Regions from separate parts of the Homo sapiens genome. Here regions 2, 3 and 4 are each linked to region 1. Evidence: promoter capture Hi-C in human tissues and cell types (Jung and others, 2019). All regions are on one chromosome and are shown on one strand. Each heading gives the region's core, a stretch centred on a gene start or on the middle of the fragment in contact. The rest is flanking DNA. Distances are from core to core; before and after follow the strand shown.

Region 1 (4,543 bases), core at 1,498-3,997:
TGGATAATTTGCCTGTTACTATGCTAGGAAGAAAAAACAAAAAACAAATTTGAGGCTAGGGGAAGACTCCCAGCAAGATACAGTGTTTTAGCATTCTCTGTTTGTTACGCAAGTCAACTAACTTCATTTGACTGCCATGCAACATTACTGAATTACATTATATCCCTAAAAGATGCATCAGAGGGCAAGCCTTTATCCTTGTTTATCCTTCTGCCTGAGTGCTGTGTTTAAGATGTAACTTCTTTTACTAAAAAATTTAAGTCACTTAAATAAAAATACTTTTAAGTGTCCTCCCTCAATAAAGATTCCAATATAGTCTTTGAATATGGGTTCAAATTTCTAAGTTCAATGCCTAAAGTAAAATAGACAAAAAGACTAGAAAACAGCACTAAAAAGATGTCCTGGTCTCTATTCTAGTTGTGCTACTAGCTCTAAGAACCTGATAGATTACAAATTACATTTGGCTTCCTGATCTATGATTGCATGTGGGCACATTTCACACGCAATATTATCAGTTATTTCAGTTTGGGGCAGGGTTTCTCAATCTTAGAACTATGGACATTTTGGGCTGAATAATTTTTTGTTGTTTGGGGGTGAGGCAGTGCTTTGTTGGTTATTTAGTAGCATTCCTAGCCTCTACCTATTAGATGCCAGTAGCACCCTATACCCCCACCTCCATGTTGTGACAACCAAAAATGTCTTCACACATCGCTAAATGTTCCCTGAGGGGCAAAAATCTCCTGGCGGTCTGAGAAGGATCTAGATTTGCTGATTTGGATTCAGTTCTGCTTATGATTTAACCAACTGGTAGTTTTAGAATTCATGCTTGGGCTTGGTCTCTGATGAAAAGTAATTCACATTCTATACTCATCCTCAAAATCAACTATTGCACATTCCCACATAAATGCTGGCATTAGGAGACTATGCCAGAAAAGAAAAGTCCTTTTGTCTTCTGCTTCATCATCTAAAAGAAAGGTAAATTGATTTCCACGGGCATGGTGGCTCACGCCTGTAATCCCAGCACTTTGGGAGGCCAAGGCAGGAGGGTCACTTGAGCCCAGGAGTTGAGACCAGCCTGAGCAACATAGGGAGACCTCGTCTCTACAAATTTAAATAAATAAACGTGCGCGCGCGCGCACACACACACACACACACACACACACACACGGAAAGAGTGAACTCCAGCTAAGAATACCAGTCATGGTGTTAAAAAAACAATTCCCAAACTTTCCTGCACGCTGGAATCACCTAAAACATACTTGACAATTACTGATGCCTGGTTCCCACTGTGGCCTTGTGATAAAATGGGTAATGTGTGTGGATTTTTAGAAGCTGTCCAGGTGATTCCCAATGTTGCTGTACAATGAATTTTGGGAGCCACTATCTTAAACACTTACTGAATCACTTGTGGCATGATTTTTAAACCGAAATTCCTGTCCCTACCCTAGACTTCCTAACCAGAATCTCTGGGGTAGGGGATCCCTGGAACGTGTATTTAACGTTAAGCTCCATAGGTGATCCTAATGGCCAGCCAAAGCTGCAAATTATTAGCTAAGAACAAAGGAGAAATCTCTAAAATACGTGAAACTTGTCTTTGCCTGTGGTTCTCAAAACTTGCCCTCAAAATCAACTACAGGACTTAACTAAAATATAGAGTGCTGGTCCCACTCCCCTTCTTCTCCCCGCCCCACCCCCCCACCCCGTGTTTCTGACTCAGTCCTGGAGTCGGGCCCTAGAATTTGCACTTTTAACAGGTTCCCGGGTGATGCTGATGCTGCCGGTCCTGGGCGCCACACTCCCAGAACCGTTGCAATGTACTTAACAGTTTCCAGGTTAAGTACATTACAGTTATATATTAACAGGGGTGGGGCGAGAGAGCCTCAAAGGCCTAATTCATGCCTCTTTGTACGGAGGAACTGCTAATCCCAGTTTAAGCCCAAGAAACACGAGTAGTCCAATTTCCAGAGTTACCCTTGGCACATAAACCACATGTGGTTTGCAGAGTGAATGTATGAATAATACATTTTAAAAGCGTGTGTGCGCAGGAGGGTAAGGCAGACTGCTAGATACCCGGTTAGAGGCTGCGGACCTTTTTTTTTTTTTTTGGCGAGGTGCAGTTCATAGATCAGGGGTTTCACTCTGCAGCATGGTATAAGCACAATCACTAAGAACTGGATGCTACTTGCAGTTTTGTCACCAATTTCTTTGGTGACTTTGGGTGTTAAGTGACTGTTTTGAACCTCTCTCCTCTTAGGTAGATAATATCGGAAACCTCTTCCACCTACGACCCGCAGAGCGAGGGCTTGTCCCGGGATTTGTCTTGCACCCCCACCTCTCGCGTCTGCGCCACCCTGCGGGCGGCGCCGGCCCCTACCTGGCAATAGAGCCGATAAAGGGGTACGGCAGCGTAGGACGCCCCCAGCATGCCCACGGCGACAGCGGCCACGTAAGTGAGGGTCGTCTTGTTCTGCCGCCGCCGCTCCTCCTCCTGCGCGCGTGTGAAAGGGTTCGAGCTCTTAGGCCGCCGCGGCGGCTGCAATGCTGGATGCCGGGCTCGAAGGCTGCAGCGCTTCCATGTCCCAAGCCACCTCAGTCCTCTCTCGGCACCTCCTGTCCCACTCCACTCTGGCCTAAGAAACGGCTCTACCCTCTCTGCAGCCCTGGTTGGAGACCCAGGGTGGATCCAGCGCCAGCCACAGAAAGGAACGCACCTCCATCCAGGACGCCAGAGCCCTCCCATAACCCTCTGAACTAACACCCACCCGCCTCTCAGGGACGAGAGGTCAAATCTCGCGAGGCGTGCTCCGTCTCGCGAGATCTGGGTTGAGCCTGCCGCTGCCTTGGCTACCAGGCTCCTCAGGTGGCAGCGCTTGCAGTCGGGCTACGGAGGCCGGGTTGCCAGATTACGGGTAAGTTTGCGTTTTGCTTTGTGACTGTTACTCCCACTTCGCTTCTCGCCAGAACGTCTCTTAACATTTAGGAAAATGCGTTTCGCCCGTCCGCGTGCAAGCTTGCCATCACTTGGGGTTGCGCCTGTGATCTTTATTTAAACTCCACCAGCCTTTGTCTCGACCCGGCAGCCCCGGCGACGCTCTCCCGCGGTCTTTTCTCCTGGGGTCCCTTGGCCGCTGGCTCCTGTGCTCACTGCCCTGGACTTAGTTCAAGTATCACCTCTCTCAGGAAGCCTTGCTGTGTTAACCGCAGCCCTCATGGGCACCCACGACACCTGCATTTTCTCAGCCCGTGGGCAGTCGGCTTCCCCTGCTCTGATGCCCCTTACAACTTGCCCAGTGGAAAGCACCACAGCTGGAGCAGGAGGGAGGCTGTCACGCTGAAGTTTGTTCTGGAGAGAGTGACCAGGATAGGAGGGCCATTTAAGGAGAGACTGAAAGAAACGAACCCCGTGGGAGGATGTAATAGCTTTCTTCAGTTGTCCCACAGGACGAACTCGAGGGGGGCAGACAGCATAGCGGATTTTACTGTGTTAGAAGGAAGCATCTTTCTAGAAACTATAAAATAGCAGTTAAGAGCTCAGGTTCTGAGGTTAGGGGGTTCTGGATTTTTACCCGGGTCCTCACCATGGCCCTGTGCCCTTAGGTCAGTTACTTGTCCTCTAAGACCTGGTGTCCTTACTTGTAAAATGGAAATCAGAACAGTAAATGAATAATATTCATATAACGTCTTTCATGATGACTGAGGCATAGTAAGAATGTAGTTAAAAGTTAGGCTGTATTTCTACTTGCTACGTGGCCATTTCTAATGGCCAGAGCAGGTATAATTATCCCCACTATGTGGATGAGGAACTTGGAGGCCTGAGAAATTTTAACTAGTCATTCGACATTTTATTTATTTATTGCCCTCTCAACTGTGGGCCTGACACCAATCGACCTGCTGGCACTATAGCACAGAACAAGTCGGGAGATCACTTCAGTGATGGAGTGTCCTTTCTGCTGAGGGACTCAGAAAATAATCAAGTAACAGTTACCGAAATAAGGGAATTTCAGATAACAATCAGTGCAGTGAAGACAATGTAATAACATAGTATGATTGACAGTCATGAGAAGCGGTAGTAAAGTAAGGACGTTTTGAAGAGGTGACATTTGAGTTTAGATCTGAACGATGATAAGGAGCTACCTACTCAATAACAATTCCAGGCCAAGCAAAGGCCCAGGGGAAGGAAAGAGATAGAATGATTGAAGAACAGAAAGAAGGCCACTGTGTTCCCAACATAGCAGAGTGGAAAGTGGTAGGAAATGGGGTCAGAACAGGTAACAAAGGCCTGGTAATACCAGCCTTTTAAGCCATGTCCAAGGGTTTGGATTTTATTCTAAAAGTAATAGGAAGCTATTGGAATGTTTGACACATACAAGTGATGTGATCTGACTCACATTTTTGAAAAGATATTGATTACTTTGTGGAGAATGGATTAAAGGTAGGGGGAGGAATGGAAGTAGAACAATTAGGAAGCAATTGCAGTAGTCCACATGAGTGATGATGGTCACCTTGAGTGAGTAATTGATTAACTTGTGGTCACAGGGCCAGA
Region 2 (4,543 bases), core at 981-3,480, 63 kb after region 1:
TATACAATGCAAATACTTGACTACTATACGAGATAAGCAGATGATGCTAGACTAAGCTTAAGAATCATTTTTGAAAGAATCTTTCCTGATATTCTTTCTCCATTCTTCTTTCATTGTTCCCAAATTGCTCACTTACAGATTAACCAGTTGCTTTGTGTATTAATATACCCTATACATACTTCTATTAAATTATGTGTTTTACTTATTTCTTTACAGTTGTTCTCACCCTTGAGACCGTAAACTCTTTGGGGTGAGAGACTATATTTCATTTATCTATCACCTATGCATAGTTTAGTGGCTGACAAATAGTAGGCACCAAATAAATTATTTGATGAATGAATTACTAAATGATTGAACGAGATTCTAAAGGAGGAAGAAATATGTAAGAGATAATTACCAATACTAAACTTTGCCTACATTTTAGTTTTGATGTGATCGACACTATATATGCTCTTGCCATATCCAATAATAGGACATCCAATTAGTCCCTTTGTGTTAGTTAAGATTAGATTTTGCTATATATAACTGGCGAACTCAAAATAACAGTAGTTTCCTTTAGAAATTTCTTTCACACCAAAAAGAAGCCTGAAAGAAGGTAATCCAGGGCTGCCGTGGAGGTTTCAGAGTATCAGGGACCATGTTCCAATTATCTTTCTGTTCCACCATCTTTACTGCGGTACCACATGAACCAAAAGAACTGCTCAAATTCCATCAGTTCCTCTTTCTTTCCTTCCTTCCTTTCATCTTTTTTCTTCCTCTTTCTTTCCCCTTACTAATCCGCATGGACAAGAAGTGCTTACCCCGACTTTTGAAAGGAGACTTCCTAATAGTACTCTATGGCACTTCCCCTTGTATCTCATTGGCTAGTACCTAGTTAGTTACATGGCCGCATGGAGATGTACAAGGGGCTGGGAAATGTCTTTTAGCTGCATGGCAGTGTTTTCAGCCGAAAATTGTGGTTGGTTCGGTTACTAAGGAGCAAGGAGAGAATGGACATTGGAATACAATTAACAGTCTCTGAATTTTTAATCACTAATGGATACCAAAACGAGAAAGAACTTTTCCCTTAAGGGGAAGAGCCTGATGAAAGAGAGAAGTAAGTGGCAGAGAAAGCTTTTTAGTTTACTATTTGTGTAAGCCTGCCCCTAACAAGCCAAAAATTAGAAGATTTTATGTTGAACCTAATTCCTATCAACTTCAGTTCTGCTCTCAAAGGCAAGATGTTAACCAAATATAATTCATGTTTTAGAGTGTCACTTGTAAATCTGATGTAGTAGGATTCTTTTGCCATTTTACATGTGCCAAATCATATAAACTAAGAAATAGTTTGATTTTTGGTTCTAGGACAATGTCATAAATTTGGTATTAGCTAAAGTGCTAGTCTTGGGGAAAAAATGAGGTAGTAGTAAAATCAGGAAGCTAATCTTCAATAGGCACTTAATCCATAAAGAGCTGACTTCCCTTGGGTGTTTAATCCTGGTCGACTGTTTCTGGTATTGATTATTTTCCCTGGGTTGTAAAGTTTGTAATGAAAAGTTTTATTCTTTGGAGATTTGAAAAATTGCTTTTCATGAGTCCTTTATCTTCCAGGCTCTAAATTATCTTGGTATTCAGCCCACAAAGGAACAACACCAAGCCCTGAGACAGCAAGTACAAGCAGACTCAAAAGGGACAGTGTCTTTTGGAGGTAATATTAGGTTTATTGTGTTGTATTATCACTGAATCATCATTCAAGAGTTATGGTGACACATTTTCATTAAGAGTGTTTGTTCTTTAGAAGGAGAGAATGAAAAGTAAAACTACATCCATTTCAAGGTCCTTAATCAGTACCCAAAGAACTCAGCTAGAATTACTGACCTGGCAGGGTCAGCAGAAAGAAGAATTTCATTAGGACCTTTCAGCTCTAAAATATCATCATTCTGTCATATTCTTTTTATTTTTTATTTATTGCATAAACATTGCTTTAGTAATAACAAAAGAAACAGTACAAAATATGGAAGTTCTAATTTCACTACTGTGAGATTAATTCGAATCCTTTTTCAGCTAATATAATATAGTAAATATTTTTATGATGCTACCTAATTAGAGTCATCCCTTGGTATGGGAGGGGAATTGTTTCCCGGACCCCTGCATATACCCAAATCCAGCCATACTCAATCTCATAGACAGCCTTGCAGAACCCACATATAGTAAAAGTTTACCCTCCACATATGTGGCTTTTCCAACCTGCAAATACTGTATTTTTTATGCATTTGGTTGAAAAAACTTGATGTATAAGTGAACCTGTGTAGTTCAAGCCTATGTTGTTCAGGGGTCAACTCTATTCTTATTAAAGATACCATAATGTACCACTTAGTTATTGTACTATAATATTAAGCCTTTCTACTATTGTGAATTTTGATAGTTTCTCAGTAGCTGATATTACAAATCTGTATTTATCAACATTATGAATGTAGCTGTTTTTCTTTCTTAAGCCAAATCCTCACAAATGATTTGGACTTTTGATACATATTGGTAAATTGTTTTTCAGAGATATTTTGCACATATATTCGTTCCACCACCAGTAATGTTTGAATATAACACTTTTTGTCTTCTTGTCACTATTAAGTAATTTTTTTCTTGTATAATAGATGTAACATTGTATTATTTATAAAGCATCTGTATTGCTGAAAAAAAATTGACCTTTTGGTTTTTAAGTGATGAAAAAAAGATATTTTTCATCCCATCTCCACTTGAAAATCATCCCAAAATAATAATGAAAACAAGAAACAGAAAAACACATACAAGTAAAATCACAATATCTAAGGACAGAAAAATGGGTGAGGAAAGTAAATTTGTGAGCAGAGGCAGGTAAAGCCCAAGTGTGTGAAGATAGAGGAAAATCACAATGAGGAACAAGTTGATTTGACCCTAAAATGATTTAAGAATTGAAGACATCAAGTACTTCTGGAGACTGAGTTTTTAGGCAGGATATTAAAACAGGATTGTTGGAAATCTTTATAAGGAGAATTATGCATGCTCTTCTCTGCTCTTTCTCAAGTAGTCCGGCATCTCCCACCGTACACCTCCAGGAGAAAAGAAGTATATTCCTTTGAGAAATTAAACCAGAGATCGTGGACCTATAGTTGCCAGCTGCAAGGGAGTTTGTGGAGTATATAGTGAGTCATCACTCGTAATATGCACCCAGATTGCTCAGGGAACTTTGCTGCCATGTTTATTACTATAGGCAGAAGACTATGGTATTCTCTCTGAAGAAGCTGAACAGAAATGTCAGCTGGCCACCAGATTGCCCTGTAGTGAAAGCTGCCAGTTGACAAAGCAAGTTACACACACAAAATTTCCAACCAACTTTTTTAGTGCCCGATTCTTAAATATGAACTCATAGTCAAGAGTCACCAGAGATTTGGAGAAATCCTCCAACATAAAATATAGAACCCAAAACTATCAGACAAACAGAAAAAAGGAACTCAGAAAAAAAGAAATAAAGAAGCACAGAAGAGAATTTCAGGTAGGAGGTCAGGTGCAGTGACTCACACCTGTAATCCCAGCACTTTAGGAGGCCAAGGTGGGTGCGTCACCTGAGGTGAGGAGTTCAAGACCAGCCTGGCCAATATGGTGAAACCCCGTCTCTATTAAAAATACAAAAATCAGCTGGGCATGGTGGTGCACGCCTGTAATCCCAGCTACTCAGGAGGCTGAGGCAAGAGAATCGCTTGAACCTGGGCAGTGGAGGTTGCAGTGAGCCAAGATCGTGCCACTGCACTCCAGCCTGGGTGACAGAGTGAGACTCCATCTCAAAAAATAAATAAATAAATAAAATAAAATAAATAAATAAATTCAGGTAAACTCTCATAACATCTTTAAAGAGAAAAGTGAAGGTAATGCAACCATGAAATAAAGTAGGATATTGTAAAACAGGAACAATCAGAGAATATTTAAAAGAATCCTTGGAAATTAAAAATACAGTAGCCAAAGTGGAAAATATTTGAGGATACATAGATGAGTAAGTTACTCTCCTTGTCAGAAGAAGCCTATGAACTGTTCTTTTTCCTCTTTGCCACGTGGCCTTGGACAGTTGAAGGCATTTAACCTGTCTCAGCCTCAATTTTTTTCATCTGTAAAATGGACAGGATAAGAGGACCTACCTCAGAAGACTGTTGGGAGGATGAAATTGCTAAGCACTGTGCCTGCCATACAGCAGCGGTTACATAAACATTATCTGCTGCTATTAATAATTGCTATCAAACCTCAGGTTCTTCCAGCTAGAAAAGCCATAAATCATAATATTGTCAAATGTTTCAGAAAAAGTTCTACTCATAATACAAGGGTTGAAAAACTATAGGTCCATGATATATATTTGCTTTATTATTATCTTAGCTGAATTATTAATTTTAGCAAAGTTAACTGAAGTAAGTTCAGACCAATTTGTCTCTTCTTATTTGAAATTACATTTACCTATCACTTCAGTCAATACTATTTTAAGATAATTTATGTGGGTTAAATTTGAAACCTTAGCAACTTCATATAGAATAAAGTAAGATTT
Region 3 (4,543 bases), core at 921-3,420, 45 kb before region 1:
TGGCATTTATATACATTCAGGGCCCGGCGTGGTGGCTCACATCTGTAATCCCAGCACTTTGAGAGGCCAAGGCGGGTGGATCACTTGAGGTCAGGAGCTCGAGACCAGCCTGGCCAACATGTGAAACTTTGTCTCTACTAAAAATACAAAATTAACCGGACATGGTGGTGGGCGCCTATAATCCCAGCTACTCAGGAGACTGAGGCACGAGAATGGCTTGAACCCGGAGGTTGCAGTGAGCAGAGATTGTGCCACTGCACTCCAGCCTCGGTAACAGAGGGAGACTCCATCTCAAAAAATAAAAATAAAATAAAATAAATATACATTCATTGTAACTACAGTTAACCCTTGAACAACACATAGCAGTTATGAGCACTGACCCCACAGTGTAGTTGAAAATTCATGTATAACTTTTGATTTTCCCAAAACTTAGCTACTAATAGCCTACTGTTGACCAGAAACCCTATCAATAACATAAACAGTCGATTCACACATATTATGTATGTTATATATGTTATGTGCTGTATTCTTAAAGTAAGCTAGAGAAAAGAAAATGTTATTAAGAAAATTGTAGGCTGGGCACAGTGGCTTATGCCTGTAATCCCAGCACTTTGGGAGGCCGAGGCAGGCGGATCATGAGGTCAGGAGGTGGAGACCATCCTGGCTAATACAGTGAAACCCCATCTCTACTAAAAAATACAAAAAATTAGCCAGGTATGGTGGTGGGCGCCTGTAGTCCCAACTACTTGGGAGGCTGAGGCAGTAGAATGGTGTGAACCCAGGAGGCGGAGCTTGCAGTGAGCCGAGATCAAGCCACTGCACTCCAGCCTGGGCAACAGAGCGAGGCTGTCTCAAAAAAATAAACAAAAAAAGAAAATTGTAAGGAAGGCTAGGCACAGTGGCTTACACCTGTAATCCTAGCACTCTGGGAAGCTGAGGCAGGAGGATTGCTTGCATCCAGAAGTTTGAGACCAGCCTGGGCAACATAGTGAGACTCTGTTGCTACAAAAAATAAATTAGCCAGGCATGGTGGTACATGCCTGTGGTCCCAGCTACTGGGGAGGCTGAGGTGGGAGGATCGCTTGAACCTGGGAGGTCGAGGCTGCAGTAAACCGTGATTGCACCATTGTTGGGCAACAGAGTGAGACCCTGTCTCAGTTTAAAAATTAAAAAAGAAAAATTTCTTTAAGAAAATTATAAGGAAGAGAACATATATTTACTATTCATTAAGTGGACGTGGGTCATAAAGGTCTTGATCTTTATCTTTTTGCTGAATGGGCTGAGAAGGAAGAAGAAGAGAAATTGATCTTTCTGTCTTGGGTGGCAGAGTCAGAAAACAATCCACCTCTCAGTGGAGCCATGCAGTTCAAACCCATGTTGTTCAAGGTTCAACAGTATTTCCTCTATTTAATTCCAATACATTTTCATTACCCCAAAAGGAAACCCCATGCTCATTAAGCAGCCTCTCCTTTCTGCCTTTCATCAGTTCCAGATAACCACCAATCTGGTTCTGTGTCTGTGGATTTACCTGTTCTGGACATTTCATATAGGTGGAATCACATAATATATGACTTTTTGTGTTTAGCATCTTTCACTTAGTGTTTTTGAGGTTCATCCATGTTGTAGCATGTATCAGAATTTTATTACTTTAATGGCCTAATATTTCATTGTATATCCCACGTTTTATATATCAGTTCATTAATAGACATTTAGGTTGTTTCCACCTTTGGCTATTGTGACTAATGCTGCTATGAACATTCACATACAGGTTTTTCTTTGAATACCTGTGTTCACTTCTTTTGAGTATCAACCTAAGAGTAGAATTGCTGGGTCGTATAGTAACTTTAACTTTTTGAGGAATTGTCAAAATGTTTTGCACAATGGCTGCACCATTGTATATTCTGTTAGCGGTATGCAGTACTACTAGGATTCCAGATTCTCCACAATGAATACTTGTTATTTTCCATTGTGTTTTTTTTAATGGCCCGCTGGTAGGTGTGAAGTGGTATCTCATTATGGTTTTGATTTTGATTTGTATTTGCATTTTCCTAATGACTAATGAATTTGAGTGTCTGTATTATAGTTTTTTATTTTTTAAATTAATTATTTTATTTATTTATTTTTTTGAGATGGAGTCTTGCTCTGTCACCCAGGCTGGAGTGCAGTGGCGCGATCTCGGCTCACTGCAACCTCTGCCTCCTGGATTTGAGCAATTCTCCTGTCTCAGCCTCCGGAGTAGCTGAGACTATAGGTGCCTGCCACCATGCCTGGCTAATTTTTGTATTTTTAGTAGATACAGGGTTTCACCATGTTGGCCAGGCTGGTCTCAAACTTCTGACCTCAGGTGATCTACCTGCCTTGGCCTCCCAAAGTTGTATTATAGCTTTTTAAAAGGTAATTAGCCAGGCATGGTGGCAGGTGCCTGTAATCCCAGCTACTCAGGAGGTTGAGGCAGTGAGCTGCCTGGGAGCTTGAACCTGGGAGGTGGAGGTTGCAGTGAGCTAAGATTGCACCACCGTACTCCAGCCTGGCGATACTACTTGTCAAAAAATAAAATAAAATAAATAAAATAAAATGTAAACCAGATCGTGTTGTTCCTTGCTGGAAACCCTCCATTGGCTTCCCATTATAGTTGGAGTAAAACTAGACCTCTCTAGTCTGGCCACAGAGCCCTTCTCGGTCGTCTTTAGCCTACTTCTGTTTCCGTGGCACGTGCTTGCTAACCTCCTTCCTATTCCTTGAGTGCACTGAGTTCATTCTTGCTGGGGAGTTGTTTCATCCCTGACTCTTATGCTTCCCTGTCTTCAAATGGCCAGCTTTTTCTTTTTCTTTTCTTTTCTTTTTTCTTTTTTTTTTTTTTGAGATAGAGTCTGACTCTGTCACTCAGGCTGGAGTGCAGTGGCACGATCTCTGCTCACTGCAACCTCCGCCTCCCATGTTCAAGTGATTCTCCTGCCTCAGCCTCCCGAGTAGCTGGGACTACAGGTGCCCGCCACCATGCCCAGCTATTTTTTGTATTTTTGGTAGAGATGGGGTTTCACTATGTTGTCCAGGCTGATCTCGAACTCTTTCTTATCATTCTGATCTTAGCATGTTACTCTCCTGAGAAGTCTTCTGTGACTCCCCAGTCTAAAATTAGCCACCGTCCTATCACATCACCATTTATTCACCTGGCACTCACAGTGTCTGACGCTTTTCTTGCATGGTCGTCAGCTGTCTTTGCCTACTAGAATGGAAATGCCAAAAGGCTTGTCTTGTTCATTACCAGGTTCTGGCTCCCAGATTAGTGCCTAACATGATGTAATCATTCAGTAAACAGGCTTAATGAATCAATAGCTTTCTTCCCCTGGATTTTATGTGACTTAAAATTCAAATCTGTATTCTTGGTATGAGATGGGGACTTTACCTTCATTTATTTTTTCAATTTGATGGCTGGTTGTCCAAATAACATCCATTAACAATTCACGCCTTCTCCAATGGTTTTAAATGCCCCTTTATCACATACGGTATATTCTAATTCAGGGTTGTCTTCTAGAGGCTATTCTCGAGGCTATTCTCGTCCCTTGACCTATTTGTGCCTAACTTGGCATCATACTATTTTCATTACTCTAAAGATGTGTTTTTATGCTTTCTAGGGTATATTAGCAAAGAGATGACATACTTCATTTGGGTAATTTGAAGAAAGCTTAATCAAAATACTGTTTATTTAGTAAGATGTTATAAAGTTCAGGGAAACTACAAGGGCTTGATCGCTACCCTGGATTATTAACTAATATCCCTAGAATTACATAGACAAGAAGAGGGCACTTTTGCCAGAACCTAGAGGAAAGAATAATGTGGGGGAGGGCAGACTTGAAAGCAGGGGTGCCTTTGGTGGAAGGAGTGGAAAGAATAAATATCCAGACCTCATTCTCCTTCCTTCCTCCTGTTTCCTGCCAGCCAGCATGCCTGTTGGCTGAACACAGAAGCAAGAAGACAGGGGATCTGGCGATGTGATCCCTACAAGCCAGGCCCCAGGGCACAGAGTTAAGGCAGAAAGTATGGACAGTGGATCTGGAGGGCCAAGGAAAGTTCTCCAGCAGAAAGGAAGAGCCTCCACTCAAAAATTTCTTGGCTGCTCTTGCACATATACTTCACCAGTGACCACAGTCTTATAGTATCAGTTTATTATAAAACCATCCTGAGGCCAGATGCGATGGAGCACGCCTGTAATCTCAGCACTTTGGGAGGCCAAGGTGGGCAGATCACCTGAGGTCAGGAGTTCGAGACCAGCCTGGCCAACATGGTGAAACCCCGTCTCTACTAAAAATACAAATATCAGCTGGGCGTGGTGGCACGCTCCTATAGTCGCAGTCACTCAGGAGGTTGAGGCATGAGAATCGCTTGAACCCGGGAGGCAAAGTTGCAGTGAGCTGAGATGGCACCACTGCACTCCAGCCTGGGTGACAGATCGAGACTCCCTCTCAAACAAAAAACAACAACAAAAAAAAAAGCAGCCTGTATACTTGGAAGTTCTTCCTGTTTTGGCTGTTTATACTTACCT
Region 4 (4,543 bases), core at 1,134-3,633, 34 kb after region 1:
GTCAGGTAATCTTAAATTTCTCTATATATGCACTCCATAAATTCCCTATACATTTTTACATTGGTTATGTACATATAGAATTATTTCAGTAAAATTGTTAACAAATTAATATTTCTTTGAAAGATTTTTTTCTATTTAAAATTTTTATGCTGTGTTTTCAATAAACATATTTTAAGTCAGCATGTCCTGTGTCCAGGAGCATGATTGGTTAGAAAATACCAGCATGACAAAATGGTTCCACAAAGATATGCCTAGATATCACTCAAAACTATGTTAAGAATGTCATATTTGGTTTCAGTTGGTTTAGTTATTTGCCATTTCTGTTCTCTGCTTGACTGAAGTGAGGCCATCTTCCTTTTTGTTCCTTAGCTTCTTTCCCACACAGTGAGGCTAATCCCAGGCATCCAATCTAAGAAGGTATTGCTCCTTCATGTGTGCATGCTATAGTTCACCCAAGTAGAATCACACAAAATGGGGAATTTCTATATCAGAATTAACATACTCAATTACTAACTGCTATATTATCTGAACAAATTACAGTTACAGAATAAAGTGTGTATTATTTATATCTGTGTTAGCTGTAAAATAGGAAACTTAAGCTTTTAGTCAGTAGAATAAAATTCATCAAAGGTAACTTCAGTCTCTGGTACATGCTGAACAGAGACAGAGTATAAGATTTTCTGTCAGCCCCTTATACTTTGTCACTTGGAGCTATAATACTTTTAAAAGACAAGATGAGTGGCCTTATATTTTGTTATCCTTGGATGTGGTAGAGCTGAAAGCAATTGTTACCTTTAATTCTGAATTGCTTTGTTTGAAGATGCATATACCAAAATTTTAGAGGTTTCATATTTGAGGGATAATTACTTTAATCTCTTTAACCATTCTTTTTATGTTAACATGGGCTTCAAGTGACCTACTTTAGTAAATGACATTGCATGTTCCTCATTTTCTTTCACAGATAAAAACTGGATACAACAAAACAGTACAGATTCCAATTACTTCAGAAAACAGTACTGTGGGTTTGTCTAATACAGGTAAATACACATTTAATTTCTATTTCCTGTTTTTTATTTCAATTCTCTCTCAATGAGGAGTGTGTAATGTGACTTAAGACTTTGAAGAAGGGTGAATTATGTCTTTGTTCCTTCAGTGAACGAAAAAGTAAAAATAATGTCTTTCCGTTGGGCCCTGTTAAAGTATGACTTTTATTAGATATTTCCCTGAACAAAGAGTTGAAGTTTCAAAAGATGCATTGTCATAACAGTGTTTATGAAGCTGTAATAATTAATGAATTGTTTAAATCAAATAATGGAAAGTCTTCTATAAAGATCAAGATTAGGTTGCCATGTCCTTTTAGTGCAATACTGATGAGGCATATTAAATACACCTTTCGGAAAACACATTATAGAAGGGAGCATACCTTAAGAAAAGAAATGTATCTTGTTTTTTTGGAAGAAATCATATGGATATCAATTATAAAGGGTGTCAGTATTGTTAATTCATTATTATTGATTCTTAATTACCATAAAATGATTTACTGACTTTTTAAAACAATAAAGCGTTAATTATCTAAGCCAAATGTAAAATAAAGATTTTTATGTGGCTATAAGGTGCTTACAGGATCAATACGAAGAAAAAAAGCCCCCTGAAATTATCTCCAAAAGTTAAACACAACAATGATAAAAAGACTAAACATAACTGAAAAACTAATTATATATGCCTAATTATAAGGTAAATTTTTACCTGTATATTTTAATTTTGTTTTAATAGCATTATTTATATAAGAACTGAAAAATAAGGAAGCATTAATTTAAATTAAATAGCTACCAATCTTTTTTTTGAGATGGATTCTTGCTCTGTCGAAGTTCCGCCTCCTGGGTTCACGCCATTCTCCTGCCTCAGCCTCCCAAGTAGCTGGGATTACAGGCGCCTGCCACCATGCCCGGCTAATTTTTTGTACTTTTAGTAGAGATGGCGTTTCACCATGTTAGCCAGGATGGTCTCGATCTCCTGACCTCGTGATCTGCCTGCCTTGGCCTCCCAAAGTGCTGGGATGACAGGCGTGAGCCACCGCTCGTGCCTGGCTCAATAGCTACCAATCTTTACAGGAGTTTATACTATATTCCACAGTAGTTTCCTCCGATTTGGGGTGGTATTTACCAGTGGGTTAATAGCAATCTTAAGCCATGAGTTATATTACCTTTTACTTAGATTTATTGACCAACTTTATAGCATTATTCCTCTTACATAATTAATTTCCAGTCTCTGCATGTACTGTATTTATTTTAAACTGGGAACCCTTATGAGAAGAAAAAGACAAATGAAACAGTCATGAGATGAGCATCAAAATTGCTAGATGATGGAAGTCAGAACCCTTTATTCCTTGATATTATAAAATATTAATAATTATATAACATGTTTTTAACTTTTAAAGTAATTGAACTATTCAATGCCTATTTTAACCTTTTATTCAGTAAGGTTTTACTATGTTATATGTGTAGAATACAGTACAACGGGAATTATGAAGAAATTAGGATATTTTCTGTGAGATACTTAATAGTATATTGTGAAATAAAACATGGGGCTAAAAATTATAATTATTGAAATTAGGAAACATTCTAATTTATATGCATGTATTTGTTTATAGATGTGTGTGTATGTTTATTTTATCAAGCAGCTACTATTTGCAGTTTTTTGTGTTAATCAGAGCAGGATATGGGTGGTTTTGTTACTCTAAAAAGCATTCTGTCTTGTGGATGAATAACACATTTACACAAATTATGTAAAGACATGAACAAAGAGGCCTAAGGAAGGAAGTAGTGAGTGCTATGAGTATGGTATAAGGAAGGCACAGTGGTTACCACCAGGCTCTGAATACAGACTCAGTGTTCAGGTTCTTGCTTTCATCTTATTAGCTCTGTAACCTTGAAATAGTTACAAGTTACAAGGAGTTGTTATGAGGATTAAACAAGATCTTGCATGTCAAGCACTTATATTGTAATTAGTGCATAGTATATGCTTACTAAATTTTCCTGTTACTAATAATATGGAACCTATAGCTTAGAGTGTAGCTCAGATAATATTCTAGGTCATGTTTATAGAGCAGAAGGAAAGCTTCCAATTCTTGATTCAATTTTATGTCCTCCCCTTGACCCCAAAAACTAGTATATAATAAGGAATCTGTCACAATATGCAGAAATTAAGAAAAATTTCTTGGCAAAAGTCAGACATTATCCAAATCTTGAAAAAAGTGGTAAACATCAATTGATAACTGAACACAGGAGATCGTTTCAAGTTAAGGAAGCACCACAAATAAAAGCATAGAACTAAGGATGAGCTAGATGTCAGATGATTCTAAGAGTCAGGTGTGATTAGAGCAGAGATCTTGTTAACAATGAATAAACTCAGGTAAATTTATACCAGTCGCTATAAGAATAGTGGTAGATTTTGTAATAGAAAAATAGGTTAGTGAAAAATATATTTAAGTAAGTTATAGGTAAATATTAAAATACAATTAAGACGGAACATTTTTCTAGAGTAGAAAGTGCATCAACTCAGTCTCATTTTCTTCTACATAAATGTAGTAGGCAAGATATTTCTGGGGAGTGGAAAAAAGGCAAAATCACCTCTAAATTATCTCTAGATAACTTATATACATTGTGATTTGCATATTATAAGTACCTAATTATAGATTGTTACAAATCAGAAATTAACCATCACTTCTAGATTTCTTCAGTTACCTGATGCTAATACAAAAAATATAAACAAATTTTAATGTTAACCTCAACAAAAGTAAATGTAATTAGATAGTTCTATTTCTGTTCTTATCTAAAAATCATCCCAAAGTGTAAAATAGGTTAGAATTTTTAAAATCCACATAATATTTAAATGTTTTAAAAATGATGCTATTATACAGAAATTTATTTCAAAATCCAGAGTTGTTTACTAGTGCTATATATAAGTTGAATAACACATGAGTTTGTAAGTGAGCTAACAATATACTAAAGACATTTCTAAGGATAGCAATAAACAATTGTTGCAGCCAGGTGCGGTGGCTCACATCTGTAATCCCAGAACTTTGGGAGGCTGAGACGGGCAGATCACTTGAGGTCAGGAGTTCGAGACCAGCCTGGCCAACATAGTGAAACCCTGTCTCTACTAAAAATAGAAAAAAAAAAAATTAGCCAGGCACAGTGGTGCACGCCTGAAGTCCCAGCTACTCGGGAGGCTAAGGCAGGAGAATTGCTTCCTTGAACCCAGGAGGCAGAGGTTGCAGTGAGCTGAGATTATGCCACTGCACTCCAGCCTGGGTGACATAGCAAGATGCCATCTCAAAAAAAAAAAAAGAATTGTTGCATGAAGAAATACAGTCATTATTTTAACTTTACTAATAGCGCGTAAAGCCTTAATTCCTTTAGACCAAGTCTTTTGAAACTGAAGCAAAATAGTTATGGGGAAAAATATCCATTCAGAGTTCATGGTATTAAGCAAATTGTATTGATCCTTTCCTTACAAAACATTCCTTTTCTTCTGCTGCTAC

The links. Contacts are between HindIII fragments. The study calls those that stand out against the background at their distance.
Region 2: a contact is called between a fragment that was not itself captured here and the fragment with the promoter of COX11 in region 1, in 1 of the 25 tissues and cell types used here (stomach).
Region 3: a fragment that was not itself captured here is called in contact with the fragment with the promoter of COX11 in region 1 in 1 of the 25 tissues and cell types used here (pancreas).
Region 4: a contact is called between a fragment that was not itself captured here and the fragment with the promoter of COX11 in region 1, in 1 of the 25 tissues and cell types used here (spleen).

Annotation. Positions count from the first base shown.
Region 1 is chr17:54,965,907-54,970,449 of GRCh38, forward strand. It overlaps COX11 (cytochrome c oxidase copper chaperone COX11), which reads right to left and starts at 2,748. Exons shown (of 4, transcript NM_004375.5): 1 at 2,375-2,748. The coding sequence starts at 2,740. It overlaps STXBP4 (syntaxin binding protein 4), which reads left to right and starts at 2,859. Exons shown (of 18, transcript NM_178509.6): 1 at 2,859-2,909. RefSeq lists enhancers at 1,818-2,767, 2,617-2,676, 2,687-2,766, 2,768-3,716, 2,947-3,046 and 1 more. The HindIII fragment of the contact is 12,807 bases long and covers 1-4,543 here.
Region 2 is chr17:55,029,578-55,034,120 of GRCh38, forward strand. STXBP4 (syntaxin binding protein 4) reads left to right here. Exons shown (of 18, transcript NM_178509.6): 9 at 1,591-1,687. Among named protein-coding and RNA genes, the nearest start is that of STXBP4, 63 kb to the left of the region's middle. The HindIII fragment of the contact is 6,265 bases long and covers 1-4,543 here.
Region 3 is chr17:54,921,438-54,925,980 of GRCh38, forward strand. All of the region lies in intron 7 of TOM1L1 (target of myb1 like 1 membrane trafficking protein), which reads left to right. Among named protein-coding and RNA genes, the nearest start is that of TOM1L1, 23 kb to the left of the region's middle. The HindIII fragment of the contact is 5,476 bases long and covers 1-4,543 here.
Region 4 is chr17:54,999,847-55,004,389 of GRCh38, forward strand. It overlaps STXBP4 (syntaxin binding protein 4), which reads left to right. Exons shown (of 18, transcript NM_178509.6): 7 at 962-1,037. Among named protein-coding and RNA genes, the nearest start is that of STXBP4, 33 kb to the left of the region's middle. The HindIII fragment of the contact is 4,295 bases long and covers 237-4,531 here.